Linked DNA regions of Homo sapiens: all the other regions are linked to region 2. The links are contacts of gene promoters, found by promoter capture Hi-C in human tissues and cell types (Jung and others, 2019). All regions are on one chromosome and are shown on one strand. The core of a region is centred on a gene start or on the middle of the fragment in contact, and the rest is flanking DNA. Distances in the headings are between cores, read along the strand shown.

The links. The method cuts DNA at HindIII sites, captures the fragments that hold promoters and counts their contacts. A contact is called where the count stands out against the background at its distance.
Region 1: a contact is called between a fragment that was not itself captured here and the fragment with the promoter of ZNF266 in region 2, in 5 of the 25 tissues and cell types used here (H1 embryonic stem cells, liver, lymphoblastoid cells and 2 more).
Region 3: the fragment with the promoter of OR7D4 here is called in contact with the fragment with the promoter of ZNF266 in region 2 in 3 of the 25 tissues and cell types used here (heart left ventricle, mesendoderm cells and thymus).

The regions. Positions count from the first base shown.
Region 1 is chr19:9,240,039-9,243,643 of GRCh38, forward strand. It overlaps a transcript of OR7E24 not described here. Among named protein-coding and RNA genes, the nearest start is that of OR7E24, 9.1 kb to the right of the region's middle. The HindIII fragment of the contact is 9,125 bases long and covers 1-3,605 here.
Region 2 is chr19:9,433,766-9,437,721 of GRCh38, forward strand. It overlaps ZNF266 (zinc finger protein 266), which reads right to left and starts at 1,808. Exons shown (of 11, transcript NM_001370374.1): 1 at 1,519-1,808; 2 at 1,343-1,428; 3 at 1,033-1,094; 4 at 310-470; 5 at 1-21. It overlaps LOC105372269 (a long non-coding RNA gene), which reads left to right and starts at 1,876. Exons shown (of 3, transcript XR_007067133.1): 1 at 1,876-2,007. RefSeq lists an enhancer at 1,599-1,728. The HindIII fragment of the contact is 27,667 bases long and covers 1-3,956 here.
Region 3 is chr19:9,217,969-9,221,751 of GRCh38, forward strand. OR7D4 (olfactory receptor family 7 subfamily D member 4) reads right to left here and starts at 1,621. Exons shown (of 2, transcript NM_001005191.3): 1 at 1,232-1,621. It also overlaps a transcript of OR7E24 not described here. The HindIII fragment of the contact is 21,358 bases long and covers 1-3,034 here.

The DNA.
Region 1 (3,605 bases), core at 962-3,461, 190 kb before region 2:
TTTTTAAAATTTAGTCGAGATGGGGTCTCCCTAGGTGGCCCAGTCTGGTCTCAAACTCCTGGGCTCAAGTGATCCTCCTGCCTTGGCCTCTCCAAAGTGCTGGGTTTACAGGCCTGAGCCACCACACCAGGCCCCCTCTTTAATTTTGCAATTGTATTCTCCCATTCCATAGGATGTCTCTTCACTCTATAGATTGTTTCTTTTGCTGTGTGGGAACTTTTTAGCCTGATGCAATCTCATTTTTCTGTTTTTGCCTTTGTTGCTTGTGTTTTGGGTTCTTATCCAAAAAATCATTGCCCAGTGTAATTTCATGGAGGATTATTCCTATGTTTTCTTTTAGTGGTTTTGCATTTTCAGGTTTACTGAGACCTGAGATGAGGAGCTAATTTCATTCCTCTGCATGTGGTTTTCCAGTTTTCCCAGCACCATTTATGGAAGAGACTGTCCTTTCCCCACTGTGTGTTCTCGGCATCTTTGTCAAAAAATGATTTGCCATAAATTCATTGATTCATTTCTGCACCACCTCTTCTGTTCCATTGTCCTTTGTATCTGTGTTTCTATTGGTACCATGCTCCATTTTCTTAACAGAACATTTTGATAGAGAAAAGTTTTAAAATTTGATGAAGTTCAATATATCTATTTTTTTGTTTTGTTACTCATGCTTTCACTGTTGTATCTAACAATCTGCTTCCAAATAAAGTGTAATCAAGATATTCCTGTATGTTTTTTTCTAAGAGTTTTATGATTTTAGCTACATTATATTTAAGCTATTGACTTTTTATTTATTTATTTATTTTGAGACACAGTCTCTCTCTGTCACCCAGGCTGGAGTGCAGAGGTGTGATCTCGGCTCTCTGCAACCTCTGCCTCCCGGGTTCAAGTGATTCTCCTGCCTCAGCCTCCCAGGTAGCTGGGATTACAGGTGCCCGCCACCACGCCTGGCTAATTTTTGTATTTTTGATGGAGATGGGGTTTCACATGTTAGTCAGGCCGGTCTTGAACTCCTGACCTCAAGTGATCCACCCGCCTCGGCCACCCAAATGCTGGGATTACAGGCATGAGCCATTGCGCCAGGCCTGTTGATCTGTTTTTTATTTGATTTGATTTTTGTACATGGCAGAAAGTAGGGTTCAATCTACTTTCCTTTGCATCGAGTTTGTTCTTGGAAGGGTTTAGTTTGTTGTGCTGTGAAACACCTTATTAATAACATCCACTTGGCAGCAGAATGTGTTAGCCTAGGGTTCAATCTGTCTAAGTGGTGGTTGTCAGAGAGATCATTGGGTTTATAAAAAGGTCACAAAGGCAAGATTATGTTTGACAGAGCCCTGCTCATGAACATTCAGTTCCTCAGCAGACCAGCCTCTTGTCCATGACAGATCAAGGTCTCAGAACTAAGTGGATGTTGTAGGTCCATTAGGCAAATGTGAATTTAAATATCCCGGCTCGACCAGGCTTGGTGGCTCATGCTTGTAATCCCAGCACTTTGGGGGCTGAGGTGGGTGGATCACTTGAGGTCACGAGTTCAAGACCAGCCTGGCCAATGTGGTGAAACCCCATCTCTGCTAAAAATGCAAAATTAGCTGGGTGTGGTGGTGGGTGCCTGTAATCTCAGCTACTTGGGAGACTGAGGCAGGAGAATTGCTTGAATCTGGGAGGTAGAGGTTGCAGTGAGCTGAGATTGCGCCATTGCATTCCAGCCTGGGCGACAGAGTGAGACTTTGTCTCAAAAACAACAACTACAAAACTAAAAGAAAACAAGAAATAAATATCCTGGCTCTTTTTCTCCTGAAAATCACATGCTTCATTTTTACTCTTCCCAAAACACTTGTGATTTGGCTTTTGCTACATGTTTTTACTTTAGGTTCTCTCAGTAACTCCCTTGGTAATTTCCTTCTAACTTTTCCGTTTTATATACAGTCTTTAAAGTTCCATCTTTGGTCCATTTTCTTAGAGCCACTCTTGAGAGTTCTCACGTGTTGTTTGAAACACTTATCATATCGAGTGCTGATATGATGACATGCTTTCCTCAAAAATTACCCATTTGCATGTTAGCACCCTTCACCTAAACTTGGTTGTGTTCTTGTTTCCTCTGGAAGAAATTGGATGAAAATCATACAATAGTCAAGGCAACGTGTTTCCCTTTTAGGATTGTGCTTGTTGCTTTACATGTATGGCTTTATTTAATCCTGAAAACATTTCTTTCTTTTTGTTTTTGTTTTGTTTTGTTTTGAGACACAGTTTCACTCTGTCACCCAGGCTGGAGTGCCATGGCGCTATCTCAGCCCACGGCAACCACCTCCCGGGTTCAAGCAATTCTTGTGTCTCAGCCTCCCAAGTAGCTGGAATTATAAGTGTGCACCACCACACCTGGCTAATTTTTTTTGTATTTTTAGTAGAGATGGGGTTTTGCCATGTTGGCCAGGCTGATCTCAAACTCCTGACCTCAAGTGATCCACCTGCCTCGGCCTCCCAAAGTGCTGGGATTATAGGCATGAGCCACCACAGTTGGCCCTGAAAACATTTCTTTGACATGTCTTTTCTCATTCACCTTGTTCCACAAAGGAAGAAGCAGATAGAGGTGAACTATAACCTGGCAACTTGACGTTGAGACCACACTCCAACTTTGCTATCCTTTATTTCATAAGAACAGTGATGTGATTTTTCACATCAAATTAGGAATGTAGATTTGTAAGCTTGTTTGTTCTGATGATTCATAGTAATGAACTGCCTAGAATAACTGAGACGTTGCTTCCTTCTTTGTGATTATTCCTTTTCTTCCCTCCCTCCCTCCTTTTTTACTTTCTTCCTTTCCTCTTCTTTCTTCCCTCATTCCCTCCTCTTTCTTCCCTCATTCCCTCCTCTTTCTTCTCTCATTCCCTCCTTCCTTCTTGTCTTTCTTTCTTTCCTTCTTTATTTGACCTTTATTTCCCATAATTGCAGTTTTATGATCTAACCCCAGATTGTAGAACATGTAATAATTATACGATAGAAAAGATTTGTTCTCTCATATAGTTTAATTTTCTTCTGAGACTTTCTGGAGATGTCTTCAGGAATGGAAGCCACAGAATGTGGACTGTGTTTGGGATGCAGTTCACCCTTTTGATGAGAACTGGTAGAACTGGGTCTGCAGTGAAGGATGGGGTAGTAGATGGTGTCAGGGTTCATCCCACATCCCTAAGACCCTCCCGCCATCTCCACACACACCATCCTGTCTGCCAATGGTCAGCATCAGCTGAGGGATCCACTTTCCCCAATGCATGGTGGCAGAAAGGTAATGAATGCTTACAATTTTATGTTGCTCTGGCATTTTTTTTTTTTTTTTTGAGCCAGTGTCTCACAGTATTGTGCAGGCTGGAGTACAGTGGCTCACTGAAATCTTGAACTCCTGGGCTCAAGTGATCCTCCTCAGTCTCCCAAGTAGCTGGGACTACAGGCATGCATCATCACACCCAGTTAGGGGGTCTCTCTATGTGACTCAGGCTTGTCTTGAAATCCTGGCCTCAAACCAGGATTGGCCACCTTGGCTTCCTGAAGCACTGGGATTGTAGGTGTGAACCACTGCACCTGGCAGGCATCTATTTTGAATACAGGCTTAGCTTTCTGAT
Region 2 (3,956 bases), core at 558-3,057:
AACATGCTGAAACCATCTCTACTAAAAAAAAAAAAAATACAAAAATACAAAAATTAGCCAGGCATGGTGGCGCACACTTGTAATCCCAGCTACTAGGGTGGCTGAGGCAGGAGGATGGCTTGAAAACCCAAGAGGTGGAGGTTACAGTGTTTCAGTGAGCCGAGATCCTGCCACTGCACTGGAGCCTGGCAACAGCGAAACTCTGTCTCCCAAAAGATATCACTTACTATTTCCTGTCATACATTTAAGATTAAATTATCCCACCACATTGTTTCCCCAACCAAAGAAAGAATACTGACTCTGTCAAACCTGGGAGTAATCTTTGATGCACTCCTCTCTCTCACCATAGAAGTGGAGTCAGCCAATTCACAGAATGCTTTGCCCAGCTCTTATTTCCTTCCCCTTCAGTATGGCTAAATCATACCATATTTTTGGTCTCAGCTTGCATATCACTCTTTTCTTAGCATTGCCTATTCCAAAGAAAAATAGAGAAAATAATTCTGTCCTCTACTTTACTTACAGACCTTCATCAATTTGTAATACACTTATTTGCTTGGTTACATGACAGCCTCCTCCACTAGTTTACAACCTCCCTAAGAACAGCCCTAGGCTGAATTTTTTTACTATGCCTTAATTAACCATTCAGACACTCATCCATTTACAGGATACACCAATAAATGAAGGATACATTTAAACACGGCACAGAATACAATCAGAACTACCAAAATGTATAACTTTCTGAAAGAACGAGTGACTGCGCAAAAAGACAATATAACGGATAAACAGTGTCTGCTAGTTTTAAAGAGACTAAAAGACATGAAACTTGGATACGTAATAGATCCCAAAACAATCAAAACCATATATTGGAACAAAGTGGAGAACTGTACCTTTTTACACAGGGTACATATTAACAACATTTTAAATTTTCTGGGGTAATAGTATTATGGTTTTAAAAGGACATGTCTTTATCCACAGGACACGTATTACCAAGCATTTAAACCTTAAGTGTCACGCCTGCAATGTTCAACTTACTTCAAAGCCTCCATTCCTTCTTCCTAAAAGCCCGTTTTGAAGCTCTGTGGGGAGGTACAGGCCTAGGAAGTTCAGATAAAAAGAATAGCTGAGTATTCTTGCTTTTCTTCAGTAGAAAGACTTCTGGTCTACAAACGTTTATATTCACATAGAGAAATAACCACACCCCAGATACCTAAAAAATAGCTTTATGTTTCTACCTGAATGTAGAGTGTCAAAAGTAAATACAGGATGCGCAAAGAGAAAAACAAATTCTCAGATAAAACAGGAGGAAGAAGCCCCCGAAACCAACTTTCACCCCAGTACTCACCGCGACGAGCTGGACTCGCCAGGTACGGGAGATTGGGGGGATGAAGGACCAGTCAACCTGATTCGAACGACGAAAACTCGTTGTTTCTGGAAAAAAAAAAGTCACAAAGAATTGCTTTGGAAGAGTTTGAAGCGGCAATCACCGTGTTTGCAAAAATCGTGAGGAAGCGCCCTTACGACAGATCCCGAAACGGCTCCTGGCCCAGGGCCGTCGCAGTGACAACTCGAGTGGCTTTTTGAACCTGGCGGCGCCAGGAGGACCCGCGCGGCCCCGGCGGACGCGAGCGGAGCAGGCAAGGTCTCTCTAAGGAGGCCCCTCGGCGGCCTGGGGCAAACCGGTACTTTCGCCACCCCTTCCACCGCTGGCTCCCACCCGTCATCCGACCTCGCCAAAGCTGTATTAAGCCCAAACGCCACCAGGAAGAAAACGGGTTTGGCGGCGCGGAGAAAGCGCCGGAAAACACAGCAGCGCTCCGTGACGTCACTTCCGCCTCCAGCCTCAAACCTGGAGGAGCGCTCGGGAACTGCAACCTCAGCCGAGCTGAACAACCTCAGGCAGAGAGATTCTGGTTTACTCCCCAGTGGCTACGGAGACGCCTTGGAGGCCTTGGAGTCTGCTCACCTTGAGGGATGGAGGCCAAAAGGGGCCCAGAGCACAAGGCTGAGGTTAGAACCAGCCCTGCGGACGGGGCTAACCTAGGGTGGGGTCGGTGGTGTTGGCAAAGTTAGAGGTGGGGGCTCCCCCACAGGATGTGCACAATGCTCACAAAAAGCTTTTATTCTCACCTCCTCCCACGTTCCTAGCACCCTCAAAATGATGCTTCCTTTGATAATCCTGCCAGTCCATGATATGGCCTATCTCCTCCATTCATTCAATCTAGTTTTAGTTTTTTATTTTGTTTTTGTTTGAGACAGGGTCTCACTGTGTAGTCCAGGCTGGCGTGCTGTGGGGCGAAACTCATGGGCTCACGCCATCATCCCGCCTCAGCCTCCCGAGTAGCTGGGTCTACAGGCGCAGGCCACCATGCCCGGCTAATTTTTTTTCCCCCAGAGTTGAGGTATGTTACCCAGGCTGATCTCAAACTCCTGGGCTCCAACAATCATCCCGCCTCAGCCTCCCAAAAGGCTGGGATTACAGGCGTGCACCACGGCGCCGGGCCCAATTCAACTTGAGGCCAATATTTCCCCTTATTTCATTTATCTGGACGCCATGCTAAATTCTAATAGTTGATTCCTTTGTGTATTCAATATGCTGATACTTTTTGTAAATGTTGATTTTTTTTTCTTTGACTAATATATTGTTTTCTGAGATCTTACAGTGAGTTCCAGGGCCTCGTTGTAAAATACCGCGTTGTAAAATAGCACTGATATCAGGCATTCACTTCTGCAGGAGTGATTCTAGTTTCTCCAGAAATCGTTTTTGCTGTGCTTTGTAGTGGGTGGCCTTTATGGAGTTAATAAAGTTATTTTGAACACTGTTTTACTAACATGAAGAACTGTTCATGTACATTATCAAATATTTTGTGAATCTACTGAACTGGTAACTATTTTGCAGTTAATTTTTCAACTCAAAAAGATTTTCTTTTTTAAGTTTCCTCTCTTGCATTAAGAAGTCTTCATAAACTCTAGATTACATATAGATTTCCTAATTTTCTTCTGCAGCATATTACTTTAAAAACATTGAAATCTTTCATACTCATGGAATGTGTTTCAGTATGTGGTGTGGGATAGTGGATACAATATCTCTTTCCTCCAGAAACACGGCCAATTATTGTAGTACCACATATTGATAAACTGTCCTTGATTTACTGATTTCAAATTCCATGTTTATTAAACTATAAATTCCTATGTATACCTGTATCTGATTCTAGACTCTATGCCAGTAATACATTTACTTATGCCAATATCAAGATCATAATCTTTTCATTCCAGTGGTTTTGTATCAACTAATAATATTCCGTGGTAATAATAATAATAATGGTAGCTTTTTTGTTTGTTTGTTTTTGAGACAGTCTTGCTCTGTCACCCAGGCTGGAATACAGTGGTACGATCTCGGCTCACTGCAACCTCCACCTCCTGAGTTCTAGGGATTCTCCTTTCTCAGTCTCCTGAGTAGCTGGGATTATAGGCACGCGCCACCACGCTCAGCTAATTTTTGTATTTTTTTTTTTTTTTTTTTTTAGTAGAGATGGGGTTTCGCCATGTTGGCCAGGGTGGTCTCAAACTCCTAACCTCAGGTGATCTGCCCACCTCAGCCTCTGAAAGTGCTGGTGTGAGCCACCGCACCTGGCGGTAGCTGTTTTTTAAATCTTACTACCCTAAATGCTTAATAGACATTAAATTTTTACGCTCCCAATGATGTGGCTATTATTGTGATTTTTCCCTTTTGGTTTTTAGACCAGCTGTATTGAGATACAATTCACATATAACCAACACAGTTCACCCACTTAAAGCTATATAATTCAATATTTTTTAGTACATTCGCAGTGTTGTTCAAACATAATTTTGGAACATTTTAATCACACTAAAAGAAATCTTTGAATGGGAAAACCCATTTACCTCCTCTTTAAGCTCCAGGGAACCACAAACCTACTTTATCACTACAGATTTTTCTT
Region 3 (3,783 bases), core at 371-2,870, 220 kb before region 2:
GGAGCAGGGAATGAAAGCGGGATATGTATTTGATGACTAGAAATAGAACATCCTATATTCTTCCTCCTTGTCCCTTTCACATTGGTCAACTTATATTTAGTTTTAGACAGTGGTTGCGATTGTTTTGTCTCATCATTTAACAAGGATTTACGTGGTGCCCAGCACATTACTGATTCTGAGCAAGTACAAATTGAAATGTTCTATAAAGACTGGGACCAAAGCATCAACTATAACACAAAATAGAAATCTTCAAGTTTAAGACATGTTTGAATATAGACATAAATTTAATAATACAGTAAATAACATATTCATATCTCTTTTAAAATAATGATAAATGAAGTAGTAATACCAGCTCTAACAATGGAAGCAGGTTTAATGTAAGAATGTCTGCATAATTCATCACAAAAACAGGTCAGTAAAGAGAAATCATAAACAAAATCACAATAGAAAAAATGCATTTGAAAAAGATTATCAACCAGGGCAGATCCTCTCAATAAAGGAAGAAACCAAGGACAATTGCTTAACCCGATAAACAATGGTTGTTTTAATACCACAGGCAACAAGATATGCTATGTTAAAACAGTAAGGGGTTTAAATTCCTGGATACACCAAAGGCCGTCTACTACAATTTCAATCTTTTGATATTTTGGTGAACATGCAAATGGATTTTTTTTTGGGGGGGACATGGTGTCACTTTGTCACCTGGGCTGGAGTGCGGGGTGCAGTCTCAGCTTACTGCAACCTCTGCCTCCTGGGTTCAAGCAATTATCCCATCTCAGTCTCCCGAGTAACTGGGATTGCAGGTGTAAGCTAAGGTGTCAGGCTTTCTTTTTTTGTTATTGTTTAGTAGAGACAGGGTTTTGCCATGTTAGCCAGGCTGGTCTCAGGGTCCTGGCCTCAAGTGATCTGCCCGCCTCGGCCTCCCAAAGTGCTGGGATTATAGATGTGAGCCACTACGTTCAGCCAAGGGATTTTTAATATGAGAAAAAAAATTGGACTGCATGTTGAATGTCAGAAATAATTGTATTATTTCTATATGATATCATGGATACTAAGTTGAAATAGCAAAAACATAACAGCTAGTAAGTGCTGTAAATAAGTCACCATCTCCACCACATCAACCCTACCCCCAATCCCCAGACCACTCTGGGTCTGGTAACCAATAATCTGCCAGGAAAAATATAGAATATAATAGAAAAATCCAATCACATTAGGAACACATAGACAATACCTTGAGCATAGTAGATCTTCCGTGAGTAGTTAATGAATAAGTAACTGGATGTACGAAATTCAACAGGAGACTAAAGTTTATAGGAAAGAGTGCAGGAGAGTTAGAGACTGTTCGGAAAATAACTTATTAAAGACGGGCCCTGGATTCCAAGGAGTGAGAACAGAAGGTGGGAGACACTGGTTTCTGTGAAAACTAAAGTACCATCAAAGTACAGGGACTTCACCTTCATAGACTCAATAAGTATGGGACTTTCCAGGCTCATTACTGTGAAGGCTAGTACTTATTCTCTCTCCTCTTTTCCTTCTTACCCCACCAGCCCTCACTGGGTCACACTAACTCTGATGGTTATCACTGAAGTTTTCTCTTCTACACGATCTGTTCCTAGGAAGCCGTACTGGGTTTTTTCCAAAGGCTGGGAGCAGAGAATTACAGGTGAGGTTGTTTAAACAGGGGCACATTTTAAGTTTCCAGTGTCTCAAGAGTTGAATTCTCAGAGCACCTTATTAAATAAATTGTTCTATTTTCTTCCCACTCTCCAAAGAGTTTGGCTCCCTTTGAGTAGTAAGAAGATGATAGAATGGAAATTTTTCAGTTAATTTTGTGATGAAATAGGCAGTGGTAGGGCATGATGGATTTATTTCCCCCAAGAAGAAATTCTTTCTTCGGTTTAATTTGAAAGTCACAAGTTTTGCCCTAAGGAAAGATTAATTTCTGCAAGGAACTAAACTCAGGAATCATCTCCAAGCGATGTGACTCCCTTGAAGAGTCTTTGGAGATTTTATGGATCCCTCGGTGTTGAAAATTCATGGAAACAAAAATGTCTTTTCTTTTTAAATATTTTTTCAAATTATTTTTATATATTTTTTTAAATTATAGAATTATATGTATGTATCATGTACAACTTGATATTTGGAAATATATATACATTGTGGACATTCAATGTATCTAATTAACATACGCATTATCTCACAGAGTCGTTATCCTGGTGAGAACACTTAATATCCACTCTCTTAGCATTTTCAAAGAATATCATATATATCATCATTAACTAAAGTCATCCTGCTGTACAATAGATCTCTTGAACTTACTTCTCTTATATAGCTGTAATTTTGTATTCTTTTACTAACATCTCCACAACACCAACACTACTCCTCAACCCCAAACCACTCTGGGTCTGGTAACCAACATTCTACTTCTTTGAAATCTGGATTCTATTTCTCTGAGATCACCTTCGTTAGATTCCACATATGAGTGAGATCATGTGATATTTGTCTTTCTGTGCCTCCCTTATTTCACTTAACACAATGTTCTCTGAGTTCATCCATGTTGCAAATGACAGGATTTCCTTGTGTTTTATGGATGAATCATATTCCATTGTGTATATATACTACATTTTCTTTATCCATTCATTTATTTGCAGACAACTAGGTTGATTCTGTGTCTTGGCTACTGTGAATAATGCTCCAATAAACATGGGAGTGCGATATCCCTTCCACACACTGACTTCGTTTCTTATTGATATATACCCAGTAGTGGACTGCTGGATCATATGGTAGTTCTATTTTTAAGTTTTTGAGGAACCTCCATACTCTTTTCCATAATGGTTGTACTAATTTACATTCCTACCAACAGTGTAGAAGGGTTTCCATTTCTTCATATCCTGGCCAGCACTTACTATCTTTTGTCTTTTTAGTAATAGCCATTTGAGATGAAGTGAGGTGATATCTCATTGTGGTTTTCATTTGCATTTCCCTGATGATTAGTGAAGTTAAACCTTTTAAAAATGTATGTTGGGCCGGGCGCAGTGGCTCACGCCTGTAATCCCAGCACTTTGGGAGGCCTAGACGGGCGGATCACAGGGTCAGGCGATCGAGACCATCCTGGCTAAAGGTGAAACCCCGTCCCTACTAAAAATACAAAAAATTAGCCGGGCGTGGTGGCGGGCGCCTGTAGTCCCAGCTACTTGGGAGGCTGAGGCAGGAGAATGACTTCAACCCGGGAGGGGGAGCTTGCAGTGAGCCGAGATCGCGCCACTGCACTCCAGCCTGGGTGACAGAGCGAGACTCGTCTCAAGAAAAAAAAAATGTATGTTGTCCATCTGTGTGTCTTCTTTTGACAAATGTCTTTCAGGTCTTTTGCCCTTTTTTTTTTTTTTTTTTTTTTTTTTTTGAGACGGAGTCTCGCTCTGTCACCCAGGCTGGAATGCAGTGGCGCGATCTCCGCTCGCTGCAAGCTCCGCCTCCCGGGTTTACGCCATTCTCCTGCCTCAGCCTCCCGAGTAGCTGGGATTACAGGCGCCTGCCACGACGCCCGGCTACTTTTTTGTATTTTTAGTAGAGACGGGGTTATCACCGTGTTAGCCAGGGTGGTCTCGATCTCCTGACCCCGTGATCCGCTCTCCTCTGCCTCTCAAAGTGCTGGGATTACAGGCGTGAGCCACCGCGCCAGGCTGTCTTTTGCCCATTTTAAAATTGGGTCGTTTTCTTCCTACTGAGTTGTTTGAGCTTCTTACGTATTTTGGATATTAGCCCCATATCACATGTCTAGTTTGC